Regions from separate parts of the Homo sapiens genome. Here all the other regions are linked to region 1. Evidence: promoter capture Hi-C in 16 types of primary human blood cells and fetal thymus (Javierre and others, 2016). All regions are on one chromosome and are shown on one strand. Each heading gives the region's core, a stretch centred on a gene start or on the middle of the fragment in contact. The rest is flanking DNA. Distances are from core to core; before and after follow the strand shown. Region 1 holds the start of HSDL1 (hydroxysteroid dehydrogenase like 1). Region 2 overlaps USP10 (ubiquitin specific peptidase 10). Region 3 overlaps USP10 (ubiquitin specific peptidase 10).

Evidence for each region. The method cuts DNA at HindIII sites, captures the fragments that hold promoters and counts their contacts. A CHiCAGO score of 5 or more calls a contact.
Region 2: a fragment that was not itself captured here is called in contact with the fragment with the promoter of HSDL1 in region 1 in 2 of 17 cell types (total B cells and naive B cells); the score reaches 6.1 in total B cells.
Region 3: a fragment that was not itself captured here is called in contact with the fragment with the promoter of HSDL1 in region 1 in 1 of 17 cell types (fetal thymus); the score reaches 5.0 in fetal thymus.

Annotation. Positions count from the first base shown.
Region 1 is chr16:84,142,450-84,147,131 of GRCh38, forward strand. It overlaps HSDL1 (hydroxysteroid dehydrogenase like 1), which reads right to left and starts at 2,728. Exons shown (of 6, transcript NM_031463.5): 1 at 2,631-2,728. DNAAF1 (dynein axonemal assembly factor 1) reads left to right here and starts at 2,859. Exons shown (of 12, transcript NM_178452.6): 1 at 2,859-3,115. The coding sequence starts at 2,992. RefSeq lists silencers at 2,153-2,202, 2,253-2,302, 2,463-2,912. The HindIII fragment of the contact is 7,366 bases long and covers 407-4,682 here.
Region 2 is chr16:84,748,803-84,753,484 of GRCh38, forward strand. All of the region lies in intron 4 of USP10 (ubiquitin specific peptidase 10), which reads left to right. Among named protein-coding and RNA genes, the nearest start is that of USP10, 51 kb to the left of the region's middle. RefSeq lists an enhancer at 3,410-3,489. The HindIII fragment of the contact is 5,744 bases long and covers 1-4,682 here.
Region 3 is chr16:84,700,417-84,705,098 of GRCh38, forward strand. The region is part of intron 1 of USP10 (ubiquitin specific peptidase 10); the gene reads left to right. Among named protein-coding and RNA genes, the nearest start is that of USP10, 2.8 kb to the left of the region's middle. RefSeq lists silencers at 1-5, 46-155. The HindIII fragment of the contact is 2,750 bases long and covers 857-3,606 here.

The sequences.
Region 1 (4,682 bases), core at 1,478-3,977:
TTTTGAGACAGAGTCTCACTCTGTCACCCAGGCTGGAGTGCAATGGCGCGATCTTAGCTCACTGCAACCTCCTCCTTCCAAGTTCAAGCAATTCTTCTGCCTCAGCCTCCCAAGTAACTGGGACTACAGGCGTGTGCCACCATGCCTGGCTAATTTTTGTATTTTTTTCTTTTTTAGTAGAGACGGGGGTTTCACCATATTGGCCAGGCTGGTCTTGAACTCCTGACCTTGTGATCCGCCCACTTTGGCCTCCCAAAGCACTGGGATGTGACCGGCCGGATCTCACACATCTTTAATATTCCTCCTCAGCACCTGACATGCTGCTGTAGACAACTTTATTTAATAAACAGAATCAAATACTGCTTTGTGTTCAAAGCTCAAATTTCACTCTTGAGAAAAAAACTTAAGCTTTTCATACTCTGCGTCAGCACTATGACAAAGTTAGCATTGGTGTATCAAGACTTTTTGGGATGTCTTTACCTTCACTGCCAATTTTTGGTATAGGACTAAACGCACAATGAAGCTGAGCCTAAAGAGCAGCAACATGGAATTAGAAACCTGGATTCTCATCCAAGATCCAACACTCTTCACCATCATGTCTGTATTTATGCAGTAAGAATTAAAATATTCAGAGTACCCCACTCCTAGGCAGATACCCAAGATAATTAGAAACTTTTGCTCACATAAAAACTCCTGCTTGCATGTTCACAGTGGCCTACTCACAACTGCCAGAAGGCAGAAACAAACAAAATGTCCATCAACAAATGAATGAATAAGCAAAATGTGGTGTTATCCACACAAAGGAGTATTATTCAGCCATAAAAAAGCATGAAGTACTGATACATACTACAACATGGATAAACTTTGAAAACATTATGCTAAAGGACAGAAACCAAATACAAAAGGCCGTATGTTGTATGTTTCCACTTGTATGAAATGTCCAGCATAAGCAAATCCATAGAGACAGAAGATAACTTAGGGCTGCTGAGGGACAGGGGGAGAAAAGAGGTATGACTGTTAATGGGGTTGGGGTTTCTTTTGTAGGTGATTAAATGTTCTGGAATTAGTTACTGGTGATGGTTGCATAGCATTGTGACTATAGCAAGAACTACTGAGTTATACACTGTAAAATGGCTAAAATGATAAATTTTATGTCATGCGTAAGTCATTTCGATTTTTGAAAACCTACTTTAAAAAAAAGTAGCACCAATATGTTCAACTCTGTTGCCCTAGAATATTCCAGCAGTGATTAAAACCACAAACTTGGCCGGGTACAGTGGCTCATGTCTGTAACCCCAGAACTTTGGGAGGCCAAGGCGGGCAGATCACTTGAGGCCAGGAGTTCAAGGCTACCCTGACCAACACAGCGAAACCCCGTCTCTACTAAAAAAAAAAAAAAAAAAATTAGCTGGGTGTGGTAGAACGTGCCTGTAATCCCAGCTACTCGGAAGGCTGAGGCAGGAGAATCACTTGGGCCCGGGGTGCGGGATGGCGGGCAGAGGTAGCAGGAGCTGAGATCGCAGGCACCATTGCACTACAGCCCGGGCGACAGAGCGAGATTGTCTGAATCAATCAATCAATCAACACCCTCCCCCTCCCCCTCCCTCTCCCTCTCCCTCCCTCCCTCTCTCTCTCTCTCTCTCTCCTGTGGCGGTCAGAGTAAAATTGAGAGCTCACTTTATGCAAAAGACTCTGCTAAGTGCTTTATTCCTATTGTCTCACTTTATTCTCTCATTAATCTTATAAAGCGCAGTCAGACTCTCCCGTTTATAGATGGGGAAATTGAGTCTTATAGATGTAAAGTCGCACACCCAAGACCCCACAACTCAGAAAGGGGCTACCTGCAATTCAGATGGAGGTATAGCAAGGCGCAGAGTCCTGTCCAGGGAGCCCACTGTGAGACCCCCCGACTGCCTCGCAGTCACCTGTACACATCATGTTGGGATCGCCGAGGGGCGCTGCAGCGATCCGGTTTCTGGGGCTGCGTCTGGGTGGCACGTTCAGAACGGGGACCTGCCTGGTTCTTCTTCCCAGCCCTTCCCCTCCAGCACCCGGCAAGGCCCAGTCAACACGAGCAAACTCGGAAATCCTGGCTGAACCCACGACCGCTGCATATTTCCATTTTAGAAAAACACGGCAACAACAACTCAAACCAAATCGTTCAGAAATGAGAATAAAGAAGCACCGACAAAGGAGGCGATTGCTGGGGCCGCTCGGGGGAGGAGCCGGGTGAGAGGCTGCAGGGAGGGCAGGGCATGCGCCGGCGACAACGGGGTTCGCGGTTTGGGGGGCAAGGCCCGGGGGAAGAGAGAGAACAGGGGTGCAGCGCCGCGGCGGGGGGCGTGAGGATGGAGCCGGGGGAAGGGGGGCTCTGAGATGTGAAGGGGCGGGGCTGGGGCTTTTTGGTCTGAAGGAAGGAGTCTCACGGGACGGAGGGACGAAGATTTCCTGGGGTCAGGGGCGCCAAGGGGCTTCGGGGCCGGATGCAGCGGAGGGGGCCCGGGGCCTGGGGGGCGTGGTGAGAGCTCAGAGGGGTCTCGCCAAGCAGCCGGCTGGCGCTGAGGGGACCGAGGAGGGGTCTGGGGCGAAAGGACCGCGAGAGGGCGCCCAGGGCGCGGGGGGCGCGGTACCTGCAGGCCGGCAAAGTCTTCCAAACCGGTCCCGCCAGACCCGCGCGGCCGCCGCCCCCGTCTCGGCCGCCGGAGCTGCTGCCGCGCCGCGCCCTCACGTGACCCGCGTACGCGCCGGGGGCGGAGCCGTCTCAGACCCGCCCCCACCCCCCGGCGTCCCCAGCGCGCCGGTCCGTCCCGAGTGCGCGTGCGCAGCGGTTGCCTGGGCGACCGGGGAAGCGTTGGGCTGTAAAGACTAGGGCGCCAGCGGCTGGCGAAGAAGGAAAGAGGGTACTCTCTGGCTGGGCTGGGGCCGTAGCGACGTCCGCCGCGAACCTGGGCCCCCCAAAGCTGCGGGGCGTTCGGTGTCGCCGAAGTAAACATGCACCCTGAGCCCTCGGAGCCTGCGACAGGTGGTGCAGCAGAGCTGGATTGCGCGCAGGAGCCCGGCGTGGAGGAGTCTGCGGGTGACCACGGGAGCGCAGGCCGAGGGGGCTGCAAGGAAGGTGCCGACTGCCCCCCAGGGAGGGCGGTGGGCGAGGGGCAGACACGGCTAGGCGCTCCAGCCCCCTTCCCACACCACATACCCGATCTTCACAGCCAAATAATAACAATAATAATAATGGTAGCAAGCAACGCTCTGCAGTAGGGGCTTCTCTCGCCATTTCGTACTGAGGAGGAAACATACTTAAGAGGTTACAAAACTTGCACCAAACAGATAACCCTCGGCTAGTCAGTGACAGAAGAGACTTGGCCGGGTGCGGTGGCTCAACGCCTGTAATTCCAGCACTTTGGGAGGCCGAGGCGGGCGGATCATCAGGTCAGTCAGGAGTTCGAGACCAGCCTGGCCAACATAGTGAAACCCTGTCTCTACTAAAAATACAAAAAATGAGCTGGGCGTGGTGGCGGGCGCCTGTAGTCTCAGCTACTTGGGAGGCTGAGGCAGGAGAATCGCTTGAACCCGGGAGGCGGAGGTTGCAGTGAGCCAAGATCTCGCCATTGCATTCCAGCCCGGACGACAGTGGGAGACTCCGTCTCAAACAAACAAACAAACAAACAAGCAAACAAAACCCACCAGACTCAGGCCCAGACAGTCTGGGTCTCCAGAGCCCCAGCCCTAACCCACCACGCTATTCTCCCTGGTCCCAACTTTGATGCTTTAAATGTGTCCCTTTATTGCTATCACTATGTAAGATCAAAGGCTTTCTCTCCCTCCAGACTGCATGTTGTGTCAGGGCAAGACATCTTGATTGAATTTGGAGTCTAGTCCAGTGCCTGACCTAGGGTAGAGAGTCCGAATGAAGACTTGGTTCTGGGGTCAGTGTGTGATCCCCTCACCAAAGTTTGCCAGAATGGACTTGAAAGATAACCTTCATGGCCAGGCACGGTGGCTCACGCCTGTAATCCCAGCAATTTGGGAGGCAGAGGCAGGTGGGTCACCTGAAGTCAGGAGTTCGAGACCAGTCTGGCCAACATATTGAAACCCTGTCTTTGCTAAAAACACAAAAATTAGCAGGGCGTGGTGACGTGCTCCTGTAATTCCACTTACTTGGGAGGCTAAGGCAGGAGAATTCCCTGAACCCCGGAGGCAGAGGTTGCAGTGAGCCAAGGGGGAGGCTGAGGCTGCAGTGAGCCAAGATCACACCACTGCACCCCAGCCTGGGCAATGGAGCAAGACTCCGTCTCAAAAAAAAAAAAGGAAAGAAGGAAGCCTGGCTTCAGCTTCTGCTCCCACTAGACTTGGTGCCCTAAAGGAAACCTTTTAGTGATTACATTAAAAAACCACTTGATTTGTGTTCCAGTTTCTGAACGCAGGCAACAAATAAACCAGCTGATTTGTGTTCCAGGCAACAAATATATCTTAAGCATCAACTGTCCAGATGAACCTTGTATGAGGAGCCATAGGGAACTGGCATTACTCAGTGGAAAGACACTGGTCTTGGAGCCATTGACACTGGGTTCAAGTTGAGGCTCAGCAGCTGGCCAGCTTTATGGCTGTTGGCCCAGAGCTTAACCTCTCGGAGCCTTAGTCTCCTCATCTGTAAGCTGGAATAATTATACAGGAGTATAAGG
Region 2 (4,682 bases), core at 1,520-4,019, 610 kb after region 1:
AGTAGCTTTGTCAAACACTGAAAGTAAGGGCCTCTTAATGACTGGTAGTAGAGGAAAGCCTTGCCACACACAGTCCACGTAATTATTTTTGTGTGGACATATTGTAAACCCCTACCAAACAGATTATTTTTTTAATCCTATTTGGTTAGGTCAGTTATGAAGATGTTTTAATTTTCTGAGCAAAAGTGTAGTTTCTTTAAAAATATATAATTCTTTTCAGCCTGTTTGTTGAGGCTTCGATAGACAGAACGTAGTTGTTGACAGTTTCAGGAGTCTCGTGAGATAGTAGAGCAATAGAGTCACATTGAATAACCCTTGGGATCATATAGGGCTTAGGGAGAATGGCATTGTTTGAAATTTTTTTTGTTGTTTTATTCTCCTACTTAGGGATTTACTTTATAAAAGTGGTAAAACATACTCAGTTTGTTACAAGTCAGATCCACTACCACAAATTCCCTTTAGTGGGCACACTTTTAAGTGTAGGCCCACTTATTTTAAGCAGCGTTTAACTGAGTGAAAGTCTAGTTTCATTAAAAGATCTGTTGATGTGGGTTATAATAGAGTTTGACTTGCATTAGTATCTAACTGTTTCTACTGAGACAGTGGTATTTGTGTTATTAACTTTTGGGAAAGAGGGAGTAGGGAATGATTTAGACATTAAATGTATTCCTTTCTGCCAGGCATGATAGTGTGGAGATTGAGGCTTGAGGCTCGATAACTTGAGCCCGGGAGTTCGAGGCCAGCCTGGGCAACATACTGAGACCCCATCTTTAAAAAAAAAAAAAATTATACACACACAAAATGCTTGGAATAATTTGTGTATTTTTTATCTCAAGTTTGTTTCAAATACTCACATTTCTGGACTATTTCCCCTATTGTTAAGTCTGCTTAATAAATGCCAGCTAGTTTTTATGCCATCAGAAGTGAAATTAAGAAGGCAGATGGACTAAAAGAATCACGTATAAGGGATTTTGAAGTGAAATACATTAAACTCTTGATTACTCTTAAACTATCCACTTTAACGGGTTCTACTTGGACCTTCTTGGTGGCAAGGCCATCTCCTCGGTGTAGGTTATGTGTCAACATTTTGTTCCATTGGCTGTTTTTCAAGTGTGAACTGTTATTTGAAAGGAGAAGGACACGCCAGGGGAGAGCGTGTGAACTGAATACTCAGTGATTTCCTTTAGCCCCAAGGGAAGGATGTATCTAAACACAAAAGCCCTGTCTTGCCGAGGGTTGGAGAGGGATCTGTGTTTCAGTGACTGGTCTGAGAGGAGATGGTTGCCATTTATCAGTAGGAGTCAACAAAAGGAAACTTAATACAGCCCGGCACAGTGGCTCACGCCTGTAATCCCAGCACTTTCGGAGGTTGAGGTGGGTGGATCCCTTGAGGCCAGGAGTTCAAGACCAGCCTGGCCAACATAGGGAAATCCCATCTTTACTAAAAATAAAAAAATTAGATGGACGTGGTGGCTCATGGCTGTAATCCTAGCTACTGAGGAGGCTGTGTCAGGAGAATAGCTTGAACCGGGGAGGTGGAGGTTCAGTGAGCCCAGATCGTGCCACTGCACTCCAGCCTGGGCCACAGAGTGAGACTGTCTCAAAAAAAAAAAAAAAAACCCAAAACTTAATAGCTTGTGTTTGAAAGTAGTTGCAAAACGCGACACCCTTGTTAAGAGTGAGTATGGCAGACACGTGGGGAGTGCCTTTGCTGCTGCTTCCCTCATTAGCACAGATACTTTGGAGTTGACGAACATGTGACGTTTGAAATTGAACGTATGCTTTCATTGAACATTGTACTTTTCCTGGGTCTTTACTAAGGAACATTCCTCATATACTAGACGAAATTGTATCAGATGCTTTCACATCACAAATAGAGCCATTTTGTATTTGATGTTTTGCTTTCAAAATTATGCAACAGTATATTTTGTTTTAACAGAATATAAATAATGCTGGGTAAGAAGAGTGGCCAACTGCCCGATAAGTTAAAATTCCAGTGAGAGAGAACTAGGAAAACTGAGCTCTTGAACAGCTCTGAAAACATTGCGTTGAGGTATCTAGCAATGTCATTTATTATGAATTGTTAGTCAAAACCTGTTTATATGATTTTTCACAGTGGTTTTATACCTAAAAGGCATTGGATCAAGAAACAAAGTTATTACAATTTGGGTCTTCTCTAATGAATTACCCTGTCCGTGTTTATTTAAGTGTAAATGAACATACAGTTATGTGCTGCTTTAATGATGTTTCAGTCAACAACAGACCGCATGTACGACAGTGGTCCCATAAGATTATAATGGAGCTAAACAATTTCTAGTGACCAGTGAGTTGTGTTACAGTTGCCTACGGTATTCAGTACACAACATGCTGTACGGGTTTGTAGCTTAGGAGCAATAGGCTCTAGCATATGGCCCAGGTGTGTAGTTGGCTATACCATCTAGGCATGTGATCCCACAATGACAAAATTGCCTAATGCCACATTTCTCAGAACATATCCCCATCATTAAGCATGGCTGTGTATCCTAAAACTGATCTTTATTTTGGCAGTTTATAAATCATGCATATATTTCCCCCCGCTCCTTGGGGGAAATGGTTTCTCAGATATTTTGCACTTCCTCTTCAAACTCTGAAGTACACAGGCAGTGGTCATGCGGCGTGATCTAAGTTAAAAAGGCGTGGCACCTGTTTACCGGGATCCACCCTTGTGGACTGAGAGTTTAGTCCACATCTGATTCGATGTTTGTAGCCTCACATTTATTATACATCTTTCCACTTCAGAAACATAAGTTGATCTGTAGTCAATGGGTAGTGGTACATTTTGGTCACTTTGCTGTCCTCCACCTGGTTAGATAACCAAGATAGTGTGTGTTCTTCCAAATTGATGGTAATGAGGAAAAGAAAAGCACTTGGAGAATGTTCTGGACAGTTAGAATGATGACAGAAAAGCAGGTCAACAACACCAGAATGTCGATTACGGGCCAGTTATTGAGCCCTAAGAATCAGAGTTCTGTACCTTGCATTTTCAGGGATTTTCAATGTTAATATGACCCCTAAGTCCTAATTTTAGGAAAACAGAATTTGATGTGTAAAATATGTGTAAGAATAATCATAGCTTATGATGACATAAAAGTTTACGATGCTGGTATTGCCTTTGAGTTGATAAACAATTTCAGTGGGCTGATTTGTGGCAGCCCTTGTGAGCTACCATCTAGCATGTATGTCTTAAAATTTGAAAAAAGGCTATTAAGCAACTCCATTTTTCTGTATGTCAGCAGATTTCATAAGAGTGAAATTTCAGTTCAGCCTTTTCATGTGAGTTATTACAAAAGTGAACTACAGGTTTCAATTTTGTGTCTTTTATGAGTCATTCTGGCATTTTGTGCCTTTTCTCACACATTGTTCTAGGCAGCCCCACCAACTCCTGTGACAAAGATGGACTGGGGGAGGCCATCTTCCTAAAGTTGCTGTCTGAACAGTTAAGTAGTAAATTATACCAACCATGATGAATTGAAAAGAAGGCTTCTGGGGAAAGTTTGTTATTAGAGCCAACTTCTATTATATGCCCTTAAAGAAGGTAAAATAGATACACCAATGGCAATGACTTTGGAATGCAGGTCAAGTTTCAACCTAGAAGTTGCCTGCCCTCTATCCTTGGTGGCCCGCCTTCCTCATTTTTATTCTTTTAGCCTCCATAATTGGAATGCGTATTGGACTTTAGGCTAGGAATAACATTGTAAATGAAAATGTTGATGTTGAAAGAGGAATTTAAATAGAGCGAAGAGTGATATTAGAAATTTGGAAGTGGTATTAGTTCTGGCTTGTCCGTAAGACCTGACTTTTGCATGATAACAATAGGATTCATTCACTTGAACATAATTCGGTCTGGTCTTAGGAGGAATTAGAACTGCTTTTGCACCCCTGTTTTTTTCACTGCGAGGAAGAAGAGGAGCTCACGAACTTCATAAAGCGTTAGTGTCTCCTCCAGTTGATGGTTATCGAAATGAGTCAGGATGGAAGGCTTAGTGTACGTGTGAGATGTTACAAAAGTGGACCTTAAATGTTTCTTGAGTGTTTGGATCTTAAGAGAAAATCTTTGACAATAAGTATTTAATCTTCATTTCTTACAATCATTCCTCTTAAAATGGAGCTTTATTTTTTAAAAACGTATTTTTTTTTTCTTAAGAAACAGGGTCTTGCTCATTCATTCAGGCTGGAGTGCTGTGGCATGATCATAGCTCACTGCAGCCTTGATCTCTCAGGCGCAGGTGGTCTTCCTGCCCCAGCTTCCTGAGTAGTTGGGACTATAGGCAGGCACCACCATGTACAGCTAATTTTTTTATTTTTTATTTTTTATTTTTCATAGCAACAGAGTCTCACTGTGTGGCCCAGGCTGATCTTGGAACTCCTGGACTCAAGTGATCTTCCTGCCATAGCCTCCCAAAGTGTTGCCTGAAATAGAACTTTATTAATATATCTTTAATATGTCAAGATGTTTAAAACTTGTCAAGATTTTAAGGAAGTTGGGCTAACATTTCCTCTTGGGATGCTGAAAGTTGTTGGTTTTCTCAGACTCTCACATAAATTCATTTGCTTTTCCCTTCTCCTTCCACCTCTATTAGCTCTTTATTTTCTAGGGGGGATTCTGATGTCTGTATTGAGCTGGCCGTCATGCCGGGAGTGGT
Region 3 (4,682 bases), core at 982-3,481, 560 kb after region 1:
AGCCCGGGGTGTGGAGTGGGGCCCTCCCCGCCGCGCCGGCCGGGGGAGGCGGCCCGGGGGCTCCGGGAGTCCCCTGGAGCGCAGGGGCCCCAGAGCAGCTCAGGTTGCTGCCTCTGCCTGGAGCGAGCCTCAGAGATTTGGGGGTGCCCTGTTGCCCCTTTGCCCCAAGAGCTTCCTTTCTCAGCTTGATTGATGATGCGGGGGTTGCCGATTTTCTGTTTTTTAGATAGAAGTAGCAGAGTAGCGGCCTTGGGCTGCTGTTGCAAAGAAAACTCGAAATAAGTCGCAAGGACCGTACTTTCACTTGCGTTTGAGTGACATCCCTTGCACGAATCCATCCCAGCCAGGCTGACAACTAACGCACCCTGCCTGAACAGTAGCTAAAGCTTGGGGGCCCTTTACAATAATCCCGTGGTGGAAAGAAAGAGCTCTTTTTGGGAGATGTGCGTGTAGAGTTAAGCTCTTATTCCCCTCTCCCACCCCTTCTCTCACATCTTCTCCCCCCTCCGCCATTATAATTATTCTGGACAAAAATCGGCATGATGTATTATTTGTCAGCCTTGCTTTAGACTGCTAATTTGTTGACATCTGGTCCCTATAAATTGTTGCACACTTTTAAACCATCTCATTGTGTATTTGTATTAAATATGGGGAAATGAAACAAAGTAGCCATTCGGGAAACTGATTGCGAGTAAAATCATAACCCTTCATGAGCAATTGGGTTTTGTTGCCCTTCTGCAGATGAAGTCAATCTGACTACACCTCTTTTGAAACATGATTTTCGGAACTATTGTAATGAATGCGTGTTGTGGAATCTAAAATGCGAAAACTTTTTAAAAAATTAGATCTTACGACAAGCTTCAATTTTGTTAAATTAGCTGTAGTTTAGTTTGCATCAGAATTTCCCCCTTTAACGTTTTGTTCCCTTATTCATTTACTTTTGTAAGTAGTGTAGGTCTTTGCGCCAAAAAAGGGATCAGTAGTTGAATAATTTTTACAAATGTATAGCCCAAAGATTTTAAGAGATTTGGTGTATTTAGCTTTGTTTAGACCTTTCTGTTAAAAAAAAAGATTTGATATTTGCTTTTTTCTCAACTTAAATCCTAATTAACTAGCTTATTAGAATTGGTATGAACAAGTAAAAGGCTCATTATGAATTAATGTGTAATATTCCTTGTGATTTTGACATGAAGAAAGCATCTTTAGGCATAGCTCACTTCCTTTATTTAATAAGCATCAATCACAATTCAAGGTTGATTGAAATGTTAATTAATGGGGATGGATAATATGTAAACTTAATTGTAATTTCGTTTGCATTCATTGTCCCAGTATTTACGTTTTATACAACAGTCTAAAGCGTTATACACATCTTTAGAAAATTGGAGTAGCAAAAGTTGGCGGAACGTAAATGTTAGCAACACTTTGGGTTTATTCTTTTAAAGTATGATTTAAATGCTTTTAAGTTTTAGCATGGAGAAAGTAGCAAAGGAAATAGTTTGATTTCTCATAATTTTCTTCTTCTTTTTTTTTTTTTTTTTGAGTTGGAATTTGGCTCTTGTTGCCCAGGCTGGAGTGCTGTGGTTATTAACCTATAAACTTTTTTATTTATTTTGAGATGGAGTTTCGCTCTTTTTTTTTTTTTTTTTTTTTTTTTTTTGAGACGGGAGTCTTGCTCTGTCGCCCAGGCTGGAGTGCAGTGGCATGATCTCGGCCCACTGCAACCTCTGCCTCCCGGGTTCAAGCGATTCTCCTGCCTCAGCCTCCCAAGTAGCTGGGATTACAGGCGCCCACCACCATGCCTGGCTAATTTTTTGTATTTTTATTAAAGACGGGTTTCACCATGTTGATCAGGCTGGTCTCAAACTCCTGAGCTCAGGTGATCCACCCGCCTCGGCCTCTCAAAGTGCTGGGATTATAGGCGTGAGCCACTACTGCGCCTGGCCGATTTCTCATAATTTTCATTTTAAAAGAATAGTAATGCAAACAAGTAATGGAATCATGTATGACAGGATTTAGTTACTGGTTCCTGCTCCAGTCATTCTGAGCGTTTTAATAAATTTGTTTTACTTGGTTGCCTACTGTCCTAAGAGTCTTGCAGCCTTAATGGCCATTCATTCATTCAGCAAATACTGATTGTTTATCAGATATTAAGCGTCATGGTATGTATATTACTTGTTTATGTTGGGAATAACAACTGCAAATTGAAGGTCTTATTTTAAAATTGACTTGTTAAAGTTAAATTTGTCACTGAGAATAATGGGAGGTGGAAAAAGTTACAGTTTAAAAATGTTTACAGGCCAGCGCGGTGGCTCGTGCCTGTAATCCCAGCACTTTGGGAGGCGCAGGTGGGTGGATCACTTGAGGTCAGGGGTTCGAGATCAGCCTGACCAATATAGTGAGACCCTGTCTCTACTAAAAATACAAAAATTAGCCGAGTGTGGTGAAGCTCGCCTGTAGTCCCAGGTACTTGGGAGGCTGAGGCAGGAGAATCGCTTGAACCCGGGAGGCGGAGGTTGCAGTGAGCCGAGATCATGCCACTGCACTCCAGCCTGGGCGACAGAGCAAGACTCCCGTCTCAAAAAAAAAAAAAAAAAAAAGAGCGAAACTCCATCTCAAAATAAATAAAAAAGTTTATAGGTTAATAACCTTATTTCCAAATATTAGAAAGTGTTGGTTGATCCCTGTTACCTGTATTGAAGTGTAATAGTGAAGAATTTGGAAACATTTTGAGACCGGTAACTCAGCATTTTAGCAAAGACAAATAAATGAACTTTAACAGTTGAAGTGTAGGTCCAAGTGAATATCCTTGTCACTGAGGGGACCGGTTAAATTATTTGGGGTAATTAATTTGAAGCTATTAGTTTTGCCTTACACCGAAAAAATATTTGTGATTATTGATGTCATTTATAGTGAAATCTCCACAATAATGCTTCCTACACCCAATTTGAATGTCATGCAGTTGGCTTCTGTCCTTGTCTCTGCATAGACTCACCCCAGTCTCTTTTTTAGCTTGTAATAGCAGATCCTCCACATTTTACATGATGGAAAGTCTTGGATTCCCCCTCTAGCATATGGCTGAATGTTACTGTATTGCTGAATATCTGTTTCTAGCCAACAGCTGGATTAGTGTTAATTCTTAAAAGAGATACATTTTTATTAGAATCTCAAGTAATGAGCAGCTGAAGTAAATACAATTGTTTGAAATGTTGACAGGGCATTTGGAGATAACAGTTTTCCTTTGCATAGTGACAGCAAGCTATTTAAACATGTCCTAAGAGTAGATGTTTTAAGTTTGTGAGCCAGTGGTCACCTTAGTGGTTTGTACAGATGGCCTGAGAAGTTTGTGAGCCAGTGGTCGCCTTAGTGGTTTGTACAGATGGCCTGAGCAGCCGCGCCGTACCAGGACCTCACCATCATGCTCTTGAGCCCATCTCATTGAGAGCACAGCGCACTGAAATTCCAGTGAATACTAAGCGGGCCTACCACATTCTAAATTCCTCACTAAAGCAAAAGTTAGGACATGTATTCCAGTGTTCTGTTACGTGGAACTGATAGGATTTAAGCAGTGATTCACATAGGAAAACTTAAAGGAGAAAAGGATTACGAAGCTTAATGATTGCTGTTTAATGCCAAGCCTAAGCGGCACGTTGCACTGTGCTGTGCTCAGAATATAACATTCAAGTAATTGAGAAAAGTGGTATCATCTCCAATTGAATTAGTTACATCAGGGTTTTTGTTTCGGTTTTTTGTTTGTTTGTTTGTTTTTAAAGATATAATTTCAGACATGTAGGTACTTCCTGTTAATGGTTCCTGGTATTCAGGTGGCACATTAAACGTGGTTGCTGAGGACACTTATTACTGGTACTATACCAAAATATGAAACGTAGTGGGAAGAGCTTGCTTTTGAATTTGTAATTAGGCTGTTACTTTTCTATTTACTGCCACACATGCAAGAATCACCATCGCACAAAACAGATAAATCTGTTTGCAATGGAATTTGCTGGCCTTGGGCCATTGGATTACTGTCATTTGTCACTTTAGTGCCACTTCAGCAGTGTAGATGTTCATTTCCAGAGACTTGTATGTGCTTGGACTGCAGTTTTCCTGTTTATTGAAGTGTTCTCCCAAAAGGTCTTTCTTTGACCATTTCTGTCAATACAGGCTGGATGAAGAATTAGTGTAGGAAAATAAAGGTAGCCCTTGGGGTATGTGTATAGTATTTGTTTCAAGGATCAGAAAATGTAGAATTTATCATAAACCTCGATGTAGAATCTTCAGATCCTAGATTTTTTCTGAACTGGCTATTTTCTGGCTATTTGAAAGCTCCTGGGCCATGATCCCATTTTCATCAGATGACTTGAGAACCCAGAAGCTCTACCAGCACTGCCATTCTGTCCCGTCTTGAAACATCATGCCCTGGTTGCCCTCTCCTGGAATAGGGCAGGTAAGGTGTTGAGATAGAAATGTGGTTTGGGGCTGTTACAGCCTGAATTCCTCGACTTTCCCTTTTGGGCTCACATGAGAATTGTTAGGAGAATGTGCATGTGGAGTGCGGGCCCAGCACCTGCTACCGTCTGCGCTGTAATGGTGGCTGCTCCTAAGAGTCCTCAGTCTCCTCCCCGTTGGGCTTGTGTGTACAGCCTTATCGGTTGTCATTCTTCGGATCCATTCTCAGTTTATTT